Regions from separate parts of the Homo sapiens genome. Here region 1 is linked to region 2. Evidence: promoter capture Hi-C in 16 types of primary human blood cells and fetal thymus (Javierre and others, 2016). All regions are on one chromosome and are shown on one strand. The core of a region is centred on a gene start or on the middle of the fragment in contact, and the rest is flanking DNA. Distances in the headings are between cores, read along the strand shown.

Region 1 (6,808 bases), core at 391-2,890, 290 kb before region 2:
TGGCATCAGGACCTTCACAGCCACCACAGGTTTTCTCCCCTTGGTTGTGTGTATTTATGAAGCTCTACTTTGCTTCTACAGGGTCACTCTTATGGCTAAGTTTAGATGGCAGCTCAATTAGGCCACCTTAGTTCTCTTCCACGTAGTCTATGTGGTATACACAGCCTCTGTTTTTTGAATAGTCTGGGATTCCTAATAGCATGGTGGGTACATTCCCATAGGGGCATTGCAATCTCAACGTACAAATGCTTATCAGGCCTGTTCTTGCATCAGGCTTGCTAATGTCTGTTTGGCCAAAATAAGTCACATGGACTGGGCATGGAGGCTCATGCCTGTAATCCCAGCATTTGGGGAGGCTGAGGCAGGTGGATCATCTGAGGTCAGGAGTTGAAGACCAACCCAGCCAACGTGGTGAAATCCTGTCTCTACTAAAAATACAAAACTTAGCCAGACTTGGTGGCGAGTGCCTGTAGTTCCCAGCTACTTGGGAGGCTGAGGCAGAAGAATCCCTTGAACCTGGGAGGCAGAGATTGCAGTGAGCCAAGATCATGCCACTGCAGTTTAGCCTGGGCGACAGAGCAAGACTCTGTCTTAAAAAAAAAAAAAAAAAAGTCACCTGACCAAATCCAGAGTCATTGTGGAAGAAGACTATATAAGGTATACATATGAGAAGGCATTGTATCATAGCCTCCAAGATAGCTCTGAATGATCCTTATTTCCTTGTATTTACTCCCTTGTATAGTCCCCTGCAACACTGAACGGGGCTGTCCTGAGTAACGGAACAGGCTGTGGTAGAAGTGACAATGTATGCTTTTCAAGGTTAGGTCGTAAAAGACTGCCACTTCATATTTGCTCTCTTGGATCTTGCACCAGGGGAAAACCAACTGCCTTTTCACTTGAGCTGTCTAGAAAGGCCCATGTAGTGTGGAACTGAAGCCTTTCAACAACAGCAAGTGTCAACTTAGAACCGTAAGAATGAGTTACCTTCAAAACACACCCTCCACGCCCAGTCAAGCCTTCAGATAACTGCAGCCTTGACCAGGTACAGCCTCTTGAGAGATTCCAGGCCCACACGACTTAGCTAAGCCACTTTCCAATTCTTCAACCACATATGATAAATACATGTTATTGTTTTAAGGCACTGAGTTTTGGGGTATTTTGTTACATAGCAATAATTAAAAAAAATTTTTTTAGCCTGGGCACCATATGGCAAAATCCCATCCTACAAAAAAAAAAAAGTACAAAACCTAGCCAGGTGTGGTGGCGTGTGCTGTAGTATCAGCTGCTCAGGGGGCTGAGGTGGAAGGAACTCTTGAGCCTGGGAGGTGGAGGTTGCAGTGAGCTGAGATTGCGCCACTGTACTCCAGCCTAGGTGACAGAGCCAGACCCTTGTCTTGGAACTGCTGGGCTCAAGCGATCCTCCTGACTTGGCCTCCCAAAGTGCTGGGATTACAGGTGTGAGCCATCACATCCAGCCCTTCTCTATCTTTTGTTTCACAAACCCTGATTCTAGTTTCTTTGGATTTATCTAATTTCTCAAGATGGAAATATAGATGATTGCATTCTTTCTTTTGTAAAATACACATTTAAGATTATAAATTTCCTTTAAGTACAGTGGTAAGTGCATCCTATGAGTTTTGGTAGTTCATATTTACATTATAATTCAGTTCAAAATATTTTCTCATTTCCGTTATGATTCCTTCTTTTATCAGTTATACTTCCCTAAATATTTAGGGAAGAAATAAAACCAGTCTTACTATCACACTTTTGATATACTATGTTAGAAAAAAAGAGGGATCACTGCTTATTTTGTTTCAAGCCAGTATAATTTAGTACTAAAACCTGATACGGTTGTCTTAAGAAGTTATAAGCCAGTTTCTTTCATATAATTACAAAGAAATAGAAATAATGTAATAGCAAATAAAATGTAATACCTTAAAATGTTATGACCAAGTTGTCTTTATTTTAGCAATGCAAACTTGGACTAAAATAGTAAAATTAGAATGCAAACTTGAATTAAAATTAGAAAATCAGCCATTGGGATTTACTATATTAACAGAATTAGGGAAAAAGTATGATTATCTCAATAGGTGTCAAAAAATACTCAATAGCCCAGGCATGGTGGCTTATGCCTGTAATCCCAACACTTTGGGAGGCTGAGGCAGGCAGGTCGCTTGAGCCCAGGAGTTCGAGACCAGCCTGGGCAACATGGCAAAACCCTGTCTCTTAAAAAAAAAAAACAAAAAACAAAAAAACTTTTTTTTTTTTTTTTTTTTTTTTTTTTTTTGAGATGGAGTCTCACTCTGTTGCCCAGGCTGGAGTGCAAGTGGCACAGTCTCGGCTCACTGCAACTTCTGCCTCCCGGGTTCAAGAGATTCTCCTGCCTCAGCCTCCTGAGTAGCTGGGATTACAGTTGTGTGCTACTGTGCCCGGCTAATTTTTTGTATTTTTAGTAGAGACGGGGTTTCACTGTGTTGGCCAGGATGGTCTCGATCTTCTGACCTCGTGATCTGCCCGCCTCGGCCTCCCAAAGTGCTGGGATTACAGGCATGAGCCACCTCGCCCGGCCCCCCAAATTTTTTTTTTTTGATTAGCCAGGTATAGTGACACATGCTTGTAGATCCACCTACTTGGGAGGCTGAGGTTGGAGGACCACTTGAGTCTGGGAGGCATAGGTTGCAATGAGCTGAGATCGCTTCACTGCACTCCAGCCTAGGCAACAAAGCAAGTCCCTTTCTCAAAAAAAAATAATAATAATAAAATTTTACACTCATGATAAAAAATCTTGGCAGAATAAAAATATAGCTTGAATATTTGACAGTGGCGACAGATTGTATTAGGGTTCTCTTAGAGGGACAGAACTAACAGGAATACACACACACACACACACACACACGCCCCAATAGGATATGTATAGGAGATATATGTATGTAGGATATTAATGGGATATATATATATATATATATATATATATATATATATAGTTTATTAAGTATTAACTCACAAGGCCCCACAATAGGCTATCTGCAAGCTGAGAAGGAAGGAGAGCCAGTCCGAGTCCCAAAACTGAAGAACTTGGAGTCTGATGTTTGAGGGCAGGAAGCATCCAGCACGGGAGAAAGATGTAGACTGGGAGGCTAGTCCCGCCGTCCCTTTTCATGTTTTTCTGCCTACTTTATATTCGATGGAAGCTGATTAGATTGTGCCCACCAGCTTAACAGTGGACCTGCCTTCCCCAGCCCACTGACTCAAATGTAATCTCTTGGCAACACACACACAGGCACACCCAGGATTAGTACTTTGTATCCTTCAATCCAATCAAGTTGACACTCAGTATTAACCATCACACAGATTAAGTAAACTGTGATTTATAATTAGAGAATCATTTTTAAGATCTGAGGAAATTATTGTGATTTGATACATAAAGAATTATAGTTATTTGCATAATTACAGAGAAAACAGGCCAGCATAAAGTACACAAAAATGTGAATGGTAGTTTCTGGAGTTGATAAATTATGGATTTTTCTTTTATTTTTTTTCATGATTCTTTGCATTTTATAATGATTCCAAAGTGTGCATTGGTTAATTTTATAACCATAAAAGCAGGTTAATTAAATGTTTTAATTAGAAATACAACTGCATTAATATAATTTTAAAATGCCTTTTTTTTTTTTTTTAAAGACAGTGTCTCACTCTGTTGCCTAGTCTGGATTGCAGTGGTGTGATCTTGGCGCACTGCAGCCTCCGCCTCCTGGGCTCAAGGGACCCTCCTATCTCATCCTCCTATGCAGCTGGGACTACAGACACATGCTACCATACCCAGCTGGTTTTTGTATTTTTTGTAGAGACAGGGTCTTGCCATGTTGTCCAGCATGGAAAATGACTTTTTATTATGAAGTGTAAAACTCATTAAAGCATGAAATGAAATAGCAATTTTAAGGAGCCTGAAGAAGGCTCCTTTAATAATAAAATATAAAAGAAGCATAGTTAATGATGTTGCCAAATATCAAATGAATGTTATTGTCCATATGGGGCCAGGAACTATCTGGGCTAGATTTAAAATGAATAATAAGAGGCTTAAGTTCCTCATAAATGAGGTACTAGTGCAGACAATGTGCCTGAGAAGGTGATACTTGTTTATGGGTTTTTTAGACTAGCCGTTTCATGCTTGTGATCTTTTCTGAAATTCTTAAATGAAGATTTATAAAAAGTTGACTGTGAACTGTCTGGTGGCCACCGATTGCTAATGGAGATGACTTTTTTTTTTTTAAATCACATCCTCCACTGATTTCTAAATTCCAGGAGTTAATTATTTTGTGTTTTTGTACATTTTTACAGATGGTAGTGAAAACCTTTATGGATATGGATCAGGACTCAGAAGATGAAAAACAGCAGTATCTCCCACTAGCCTTGCATCTTGCATCTGAATTCTTCCTCAGGAACCCCAATAAAGATGTGCGTCTCCTTGTAGCATGTTGTTTGGCTGATATCTTTCGTATCTATGCCCCAGAAGCTCCATATACTTCCCATGATAAACTTAAGGTAAATACAGCCTTTTTCACTTTATTGTATTTTTCATTCACCACTGTTCAGAAGGTATACTTTTATTTTTATATTTTACCTTTATGAACATAGGTTTCATATTAGTCTCTTCATCTTAAGAATATATTGTAAGTTGCAAAATTATTCATTCAGTTAGTATTTCCACAAATGACTGGGTTGCTTGGTTGTTTGATTTGAAGCATAGAAAGGTATAGTTCAAAACTAGTCCCTGTATGCTCAAATCCAATTTTCTGGCTAATTCATCACAAAAGCCCAGATAGCTATGTTCCAGGGATAAATAGCAGATTAATGATACTTTTTAAAATAATAGCATACCAGAATTTACATATTCATATGACTATTTTCCCCTATAAGTTATTCAGCATGCAAAACTATATGCTCATCTTGGTTGTTCTGCCTTTGTTCAAGTGTTTGTGGAACTCTTAACATTGATCTCTTGGGGAGATTTTGTATTTTGAATAATTTCATTCTTGGCAAATTTTAATCCTGTAGACTGCTTTCTTTAAAAATAGTCCTAAAATCATTTTGTATTATATTGATACTACTGTGAGTTAAAATTTCTAAAGAAAGCTTATTAAGAAATGAAAGACTACCATCATGAATCATAGAACCATTGGACTAGTCTGTTGCCTTTTTTCACACACAACTTCGTAATCATACATCAACTTCAAAACATTGGCTAAAAATTACTATTTACTTGTAGGTAATAGTAATGGAAATACTCATATCCAACTCCTTAAAATGAAGATAGTTTTTGCCCCGATGCAAGGTGGAGATAGTGAGTAAAGTGAAAGCACGATAGTAGAAGAAATTATAATGAGATATAGAGCCTGTGGTCCGCTCTGAAAGAGAAAGCCTAAAGATTTATAGTTTATTTTTGCTTCTAAAGAGTATAATTTTATTTGATTGGATCTTTTGAATCATTTTGAATAATGGATTAGGCCAATCCCAAGACATTCATCTAAAGGAGAATTTTCTTTTATTGTAGTTTGTACACAAATAATAAAGTTACATACTATTAGTGTGTTGTGAAAGAAAAGTATTTGTGTCTAAATTAATGTGTTTTTTTTTTTAACAGGACATATTTTTGTTTATTACCAGACAATTAAAAGGTTTGGAGGATACAAAGAGTCCACAGTTTAATAGATACTTTTATTTATTAGAGGTAAAAAAAAAAAAACTTTAATAACTATTAACATTATTTCACATGATAGCAAATTCTTCATGTTAACTTTGTAATGTAAAATGAGTGTTTATTTTATTCAAAGCCTATAATAAAATGTCTTTTACATTTCATAAGGAAAATATTATTTTATTTTTCTTCCTATCCTGAAGAGATAAAGTATATTCTGATGGAAAAACTGTAGATTATTTGAAACTATATCTTTTGTTTGTATCTATTTCTTTCTTTTTTTTTTTTTGAGACGTAGTTTCACTCTTGTTGCCAAGACTGGAGTGCAATGGCGTGATCTCAGCTCACCACAACCTCCGCCTCCCAGGTTCAAGCAATTCTTCTGCCTCAGCCTCCCGAGTAGCTGAGATTACAGGCATACACCACCACGCACGGCTAATTTTGTATTTTTAGTAGAGACGGGGTTTCTCCATGTTGAGGCTGGTCTCAAACTCCTGACCTCAGGTGATCCGCCCACCTTGGCCTCCCAAAGTGCTGGGATTACAGGCGTGAGCCACCGGGCCCGGCCTCTATCTTTTTATTTTTATTTTTTTCTATTCTAAAAACAGATTTTTACTGCTTCTTAAATTTTGTATGGAAATATATCTACCAACTTAAAAATATTGAGTATTTTTCAGTTTGAGAAAATTGATGCCATCAGGTATATATCTTTTTCAAGGTCAGAATATGTGATTAACACTTAAAATTTTATATGTTGAGTCTTTATAGACTTTAATATGTTTCTAACTCTAAAAATTAATTTTTTACTGAGTTTTTTATTATATAACTATTCTGTATATATGTATAATTCAATAATTATTTTTATTTATTTAAGAATTTAGCTTGGGTTAAATCATATAACATCTGCTTTGAATTGGAAGATTGCAATGAAATTTTTATTCAGCTTTTTAGAACTCTCTTCTCAGTGATCAAGTAAGTTATTTTTTAAGCATTTCTGTTTGTCTCTTTTTCTTGATTATGTATTCAGATGTTGTATACTCTACATGTACACTAAGATATTTCAGAGTTATAAGGAATTGTTTTCCTTAGAAAACTTAACATAAAGGGGAAAGT
Region 2 (6,678 bases), core at 2,009-4,508:
CCCAGCTACTGGGGAGGCTGAGGCAGGAGAATTGCTTGAACCTGGGAGGCGGAGGTTGTGGTGAGCTGAGATCACACCATTGCACTCCAGCCTGGGCAACAAGAGCAAAACTCCGACTCAAAAACAAAAACAAAAACAAACAACAAAAAAGGGAGAAAAAACTGCTCTTAAAGATCAGAACAAAAAAGCATATAATATCCCATATCAGTGTCTGTGGGTAAGAGCTAGCCTATTCTAGCTCTCAAAAACTTGCAATCAAATGTTGGGCAGGGATGCAGTCATCTGAATGCTTGATTAGGGCTGCAGGATCAATCAAGTTAGTTCACTCACATGGCTGGCAAGTTGGTGCTGGCTGTTGGTGGAGGCTTTTTCTCCTCTCCACATAGGCCTCTTCATAGAGCTGTTCGAGCACAGTGGTGTGGAGACTGCCTTCCTCCAGGGCAAGCAATCAAAGAGAATGAGAGGGAAAGCTGCAATCAGTGTCTTTGTGACCTAACCTCAGAAGTCACACACATTCAATTGTATTCTATTGGTAAAACATAGTAGTCCTGATTCAAAGGGTTGATGCAGACCACCAGCGGTGACAATCACTGGGGGTCCTCTTAGAGGCTGGCTACCAAGGATCCCAACATCTTTTTTGTTTGTTTGTTTCTGAGACAAGGTATTGCTATGTTGCCCAGGTTGGAGTGCAGTGGCTATTCAAAGCCTCTAACTCCTGGGTTCAGGCAATTCTCCTGTCTCTGCCTCCTGAGTAGCTGGGACTACAGGCATACAGCACCTCGCCAGGCTAATCCTAACATCTTGGTTTTCCTGTAATTTACTTTATAAAGCAAGTACTGGGTGTGCACAGTGACCCATGCCTGTAACCCCAACACTTTGGGAGGCTGAAACAGGAGGATCACTTCAGACCAGGAGTTCAAGACCAGTCTCAACAATATAGCAAGATCCTATAACAAATTAAAAAAAAAAGTAGCTCACTGTGGTGGCATGTGTCTGTAGTCTTAGTTATTCAGGAGGCTAAAATGGGAGGATCACTTCAGCCCAGGAGTTTGAGGCTGTAGTGAGCTATGATTGCACCACTGCATTCCAGCCTGTGCAACAGAGCAAGACCCTATCTCAAAAAAAAAAAAAAAAAGGCCAGGCGCGGTGGCTCACGCCTGTAATCCCAGCACTTTGGGAGGCCGAGACGGGCGGATCACGAGGTCAGGAGCTTGAGACCATCCTGGCTAACATGGTGAAACCCCGTCTCTACTAAAAATACAAAAAATTAGCCAGGCGTGGTGGCGGCGGGTGCCTGTAGTCCCAGCTACTCGGGAGGCTGAGGTAGGAGAATGGCGTGAACCCAGGAGGCGGAGCTTGCAGTGAGCCGAGATCGAGCCACTGCACTCCAGCCTGGGCAACAGAGCAAGACTCCATCTCAAAAACAAACAAAAACAACAACAACAAAAACAACAACAACAAAACCAAGTACTGAGAATTTTGCAACAACCAGTACAATTCTAGTTTTGTACCATACTGTTCTCTTAAACACAGCTGTGTTCTCAAACACATACGTGCCCATGGGTGCACTCAAGCATAACAGATTTTGTTTGGAGTTGCACAAATTAAAGACCCTTTGGTACAGTGTCAGCTCATTAGGGCACCAGATTCCATCTCAAACTCTGAATTTGAGTAAGCAGAGTTCAAGGTTGCAGATTAAGGGCCAAAATCTTTATTCTTTGTATCTACTTTGCAATTAGTTAACTGGGAAACACTTCAAGTTTTACCAGAAACCTTTAATTTTCTAGAAACCTTTACCTGTGTTCAATATCCACTTTAATTAAAAAGCTCTTGTAAATGATACTTATTTGGGGAAGGTGATTCAGCTTGTCGAGGGGTAATTAACCAAATTGCTGAGGTGGAAGTCTGGGTAAGTGAAAAGGTCATCAAATCTGAGTAAGAAAGCTTGCAGCTTTCACCTCTCCGTCAAGACTGGCAGAGAGGCACTTTCGTAAAATCTTTGTTTGGGATTCACTTTTACTTCGCCACTTGTCCCATTTTAATTAAAGCTTGCCAACTGAAGGACCTAAGAAAACAATATAGTTCTGCATTTTGCCAAATTGGGAAATTTCCAGGGCCCCCAAAATTTAGCGGGGAGACTCAGAGACTAGAATGGGAGAATAGGAAGCACCAACTTGCTCTAAAAGGAAGATTGGGTAAAAGCAGCACTCTTATTCCAGCTCTACAACCAAAGCAACTAAGACTTGGGCTGGCTGGCTGCCTAGCCACAGCATTCCCTCCTACTTCCCCATTATCTCCTGACCAGCAAGTCATCTTTGGTCACATATCTTTAATTATTTAGTTTGAGACAAAGTCTCACTATCACCCAGGCTGGAGTGCAGTGGCGCGATCTCGGCTCACTGCAACCTCCGCCTCCCGGGTTCAAGCGATTCTTCCACCTCAGCCTCCCGAGTAGCTGGGACTACAAGCGGGCACCACCATGCCCGGCTAATTTTTGTGTTTTTAGTGGAGATGGGGTTTCACCATGTCGGCCAGGCTGGTCTCGGACTCCTGACCTCAAGTGATCCGCCCACCTCTGCCTCCTGAAGTGCTGGGATTACAGGCATGAGTCACCAAGCCCGACTACATATTCCTTTTATTAATATTCCTGTTGAACTTAATTTTGGTCGTTTCCGGTGCAAAAATGTTAAGGTAAAGGGAATCAATAACAGCCACATTTGATGTATTTTTGTAATCCCCATCTCCAATTTCCATCCGGGCCTGAGTAACCAAAAACACTTTACAGGGGTAGACTGTCTCAACAGACATCAATTTGTAACCGCGTCTACCTCTACCACGGTATTCTAAAGACTCCGTCGAGGAAAACCTTTAGCTCGGGCAACGGGAGACACATTACAGAACACTGTCCGCCGCCGAAGAAACAGACGATACGCGGGAGAGTTGAACAGACACCCGGCCTCGCCCCGATTGCTTCACAGTCCTCAGCCACGCCCCTCCCAACCGGAACTACATCCCCCGCACTCCGCGCCCCCACGCACAGCGTGTCGTAGGCGTCCGAAGCCGCAGGCTCCCGCCCGGCTTCCCGGGACGCACAGGGCAGGCGCTGGGCATGCGCATGCTCGGCAGGCGGGGCAGCTGGAGTCTCCAGGCGCTGCAATCTGTTGCGCCGCCGCCCGCGGGAGCCGGCAGATCCGGGTCTTGTGGCTAAGAGTGACGTGGTCACTCGAATCAAAACAGAGGAGGGGGAGGAAGCCGGCGGCCAGAAACGGCAGTGGCAGCAGCGTCCGGAGCAGCCGCAGCCTTCTGGAAGCTCCAGGCGGTCTTTCTGCCGAGCCTCGGTCCCGGCCCCCATCCTCCCCGCCCCATCGGTTGTTGTCTGGGCGGGTGAGTGTCTCCCCCTCTCCCACCAGCGTTTGCTGGCTCACCCTCCCCTCGCCCCAGTTTTTCCTGGGGGCTCCTCAGGCTCTCGGGGACTGCGGCGGCTGCGGCAGAACAGGGCTGTTTCTCGGGCTTGGCGTTTCCTCGGCCGGGCTGGCGATTCTGCACCGGGAGAAGCTCCGCTGCTGCCGAGCCCGCGTCCCCCGCGAAGAGCCTGCAATTGGGTATTCTCTGCAGGATGTCAGAGTCGGGGCTTTGCAGGCAAGGGCAAGGTAGCCACGGGTGGTTTTATTTTTAGGATCAGATTGTCGACGGGTGGAGGCGTATCATGGAGTAAAAAGAGAGTCGTAGCTGGAAGGAAAAACTCACAAATCCTGAAATCCACACTATCTTGTTTACCGTCTCCCTCAGCCCTTTCTGGGTACGGTGAAGTCACTAGGATGCGTCCTTTGTTGTGATAAGTGAGACGAGAAAGCTGACACCCTGAAAGCGAGAGCTTTTTAGCTCCTATTGTGTCGCGAATTTAAAGGATCCCCTTTTTCTGTTTGCTCAGTAAGTGGAACCAAGGCTGACAGTAAAGAGGTAGCAGCACCCTTTATTGGAACTAATAGTGTGTGATAAACTGGTTACCGGCTCTACCCGAAGTCCCGTGTTGCTGTTTAAAGGCAGACTTCACCAAAGTGGCTGTTTATATGTGCCAGGATTTTAGCCGAGATGGTTTGCTAGCTGTAGAGAGTCGGTAGGATGTTTTCAGTTGCCCCAGTTGGCAAAACCGAGGCTGTGGCCTTAATAGAATGTGTTACTTTTGCATCGAGAGAGTCGGATGAGCTTCACACACGTAATAGCTACATTTGCAGAAGAGACCTTCCAGTTTGTGTGTGTTATTGTCAGAAACAGCAGCTGTACATATTATAACTTGGAAAGCGTAAGACCTTCCAGGTGTTGGAGTGTTGGGACGCTTAGGAGGCATTCTTGCTGCCCAGCGCTGTGGAGGTTGCAGGAGGCTTTGCATTCCCTTCCACTTAGGGTGGCTGGCCGCGCAGATTCCTTTAGTGTAGCCTGCTCCGAACTTGCCGCTCTCCGCGGCCGTCGACAGCACTGCGACCAGAAAACCAAACCTTTTTGTCCTAACTTTTTTTTTTTTTCCAACGTGGTGTTTAAGAACACCGCTTCACCCCCGAGAACTCATTAATTGAGGTGTTTCAGTGGTTAACAGCAAGAAAGAACAACAGTACGTGATAGTTAATTGCTCCTTATCAAACCCAGGAAGAGTTATGAGTTTAGATTATTTCCTTGAAGGGTATGTCCTTGTGGTATAACATGAACCCCTTAACGAATCTTTTCTCCAGTGTTTGCCGTTGAGATATTTTTTCTTACTACTGTAGTTGGAATCCTTCTGATTTAGAAGAAGGAAAGATTTCTTGAAGTTCTTTTTCAGCTTTTTACCTTTTATGCTAGCCTATAACTAATATTTTTGGTTATACGAAATACTTTGTGTAATAGAGAAGATGTTGATAAAAGCAGATAGGAAAAAAAAATCAATAATCCTGCCACCCAAAGATCACCAAAATGTTAGTTTATACCCTTCTAAACTACTTTTTTGCATTTATATATTTTATACAAATATGGTATCATACCACATATGCTTTTCAGTACATAACCTGCTTTTTCACATTCTAGTACTTCTTTTTTGAGTAATAATTTAAATTTTTCAGACATGGACTTTGGACCTTAAATTTTAGAGCGTATTCACTACACAGTAGTGCCCCCTTATCCGTGGTTTCACTTTCAGGGGTTTCCCGAGTTTCAGTTTCTGTGGTCAACCGCAGTTTGAAAATACAATCATATTTTCAGAGACCACATTCACATAACTTTTATTATAGTATATTGTTATAACTGTTCTATTATTAACTATTGTCAGTCTCTTACTGTGCCTAATTTATAAATTGAATTTTATCGTAGGTGTGTATAGGAAAAAAACAGTCCATATATAGGGTTCTGTACTATATGGGCTTTAGGCATCCACTGGGGGGGGGTTGTTTTATAATTTTTTAATTTTAAAATTTAATAGAGACGAGATCTCACTGTGTTGTCCAGGCTGGTCTCAAACTCCTAAGCTCAAGTGATCTTCTGGCCTCAGCCTCCCAAAATGCTAGGATTACAGGGATGCTGAGACACCAGGTCCAGCCCACTGGAGTTTCTTTGAATGTATCCCTTGTGGATAATGGGGGACTTCTATGTTTGGCAAACCATAATTATTAAAAGCATGGTTTTAAAAGATTTCCTCACAAATCTCTATGATAATGTAACATTTAAGAAATTAATATGCATTGTGTGGCAAAGTAAGACCTCACTTGTTTGGCTCTTGGGAAAGAAAGCACAGCCTGAGGATAATATGAAAGTTTAAGTAGTTTTTGCTACTCAGTGGTTTGATTCGGGTAAAGATTTAGTTCTGTTCCATAGTTATACTCTATTCCAAATGCTGATCAGATGTTCAGGCCCCAGGCAGTAAGGTCCTGGAAGATTTTAACTTTACACGTCACACTTTTTTTTTTTTTTTTTTTTTTTTTTGGGAGATGGAGTCTTGCTCTATTGTACAGGCTGGAGTGCAGTGGTGGATCTCAGCTCACTGCAACCTCTGCCTCCCGGGTTCAAGTGATTCTCCAGCCTTAGCCTCCTGAGTAGCTGGGATTACAGGTGCACACCATCACGCCCGACTAATTTTTGTATTTTTAGTAGAGACGGGGTTTCACCATGTTGGCCAGGCTGGTGTCAAACTCCTGACCTCAAGTGATCTGCCCACCTTGGCCGCCCACGGTGCTGGGATTACATGCGTGAGCCACTTCACCTGGCCCACATCACACTTAATATGCATTGAGTCTTGGTGTGTGCCCATTTAGTCCAGTGCTTTACCAGTTGGCACCAAAAGAGCCTGCTATGGAAGGAAACGTCCTCTTCATCTCAACTTCAGAGGATAAGTACATGCCATGAACTATCCTAAATCTGCTAATAACCTATTTTGAGTTTGAGCCTCATAAACTTACCTAAAATCTTTAAATCTCTATTTTCATTTTGCATCTCTTGGATGATTAGTCCTAGATGTTTACTACTTATTACATAATCTAGTTTCTTTTTCTTTGATTTGGCTTATAGTATTCAATATGTATTCTAAATTTGTCCACTTCTTCCCATCCCTACTGCCATCAGCTTTGCCAGGCTATCTTCATCTCTTACCTGATCTGTTGCAGCAACTCCTGGTCTCCCTGCTTCCACTTTGGCTTTTTATTATGCATTTCCCTT

What was found. The method cuts DNA at HindIII sites, captures the fragments that hold promoters and counts their contacts. A CHiCAGO score of 5 or more calls a contact.
Region 1: a contact is called between a fragment that was not itself captured here and the fragment with the promoter of SMIM14 in region 2, in 1 of 17 cell types (total CD8 T cells). The highest score is 5.5, in total CD8 T cells.

Annotation. Positions count from the first base shown.
Region 1 is chr4:39,925,695-39,932,502 of GRCh38, reverse strand. PDS5A (PDS5 cohesin associated factor A) reads left to right here. Exons shown (of 33, transcript NM_001100399.2): 3 at 4,339-4,542; 4 at 5,642-5,728; 5 at 6,570-6,667. Among named protein-coding and RNA genes, the nearest start is that of PDS5A, 49 kb to the left of the region's middle. The HindIII fragment of the contact is 6,990 bases long and covers 1-5,135 here.
Region 2 is chr4:39,635,445-39,642,122 of GRCh38, reverse strand. It overlaps SMIM14 (small integral membrane protein 14), which reads left to right and starts at 3,258. Exons shown (of 5, transcript NM_174921.3): 1 at 3,258-3,384. SMIM14-DT (SMIM14 divergent transcript) reads right to left here and starts at 2,983. Exons shown (of 6, transcript NR_183845.1): 1 at 2,829-2,983; 2 at 331-429. RefSeq lists enhancers at 232-827, 2,599-3,316. The HindIII fragment of the contact is 4,728 bases long and covers 2,051-6,678 here.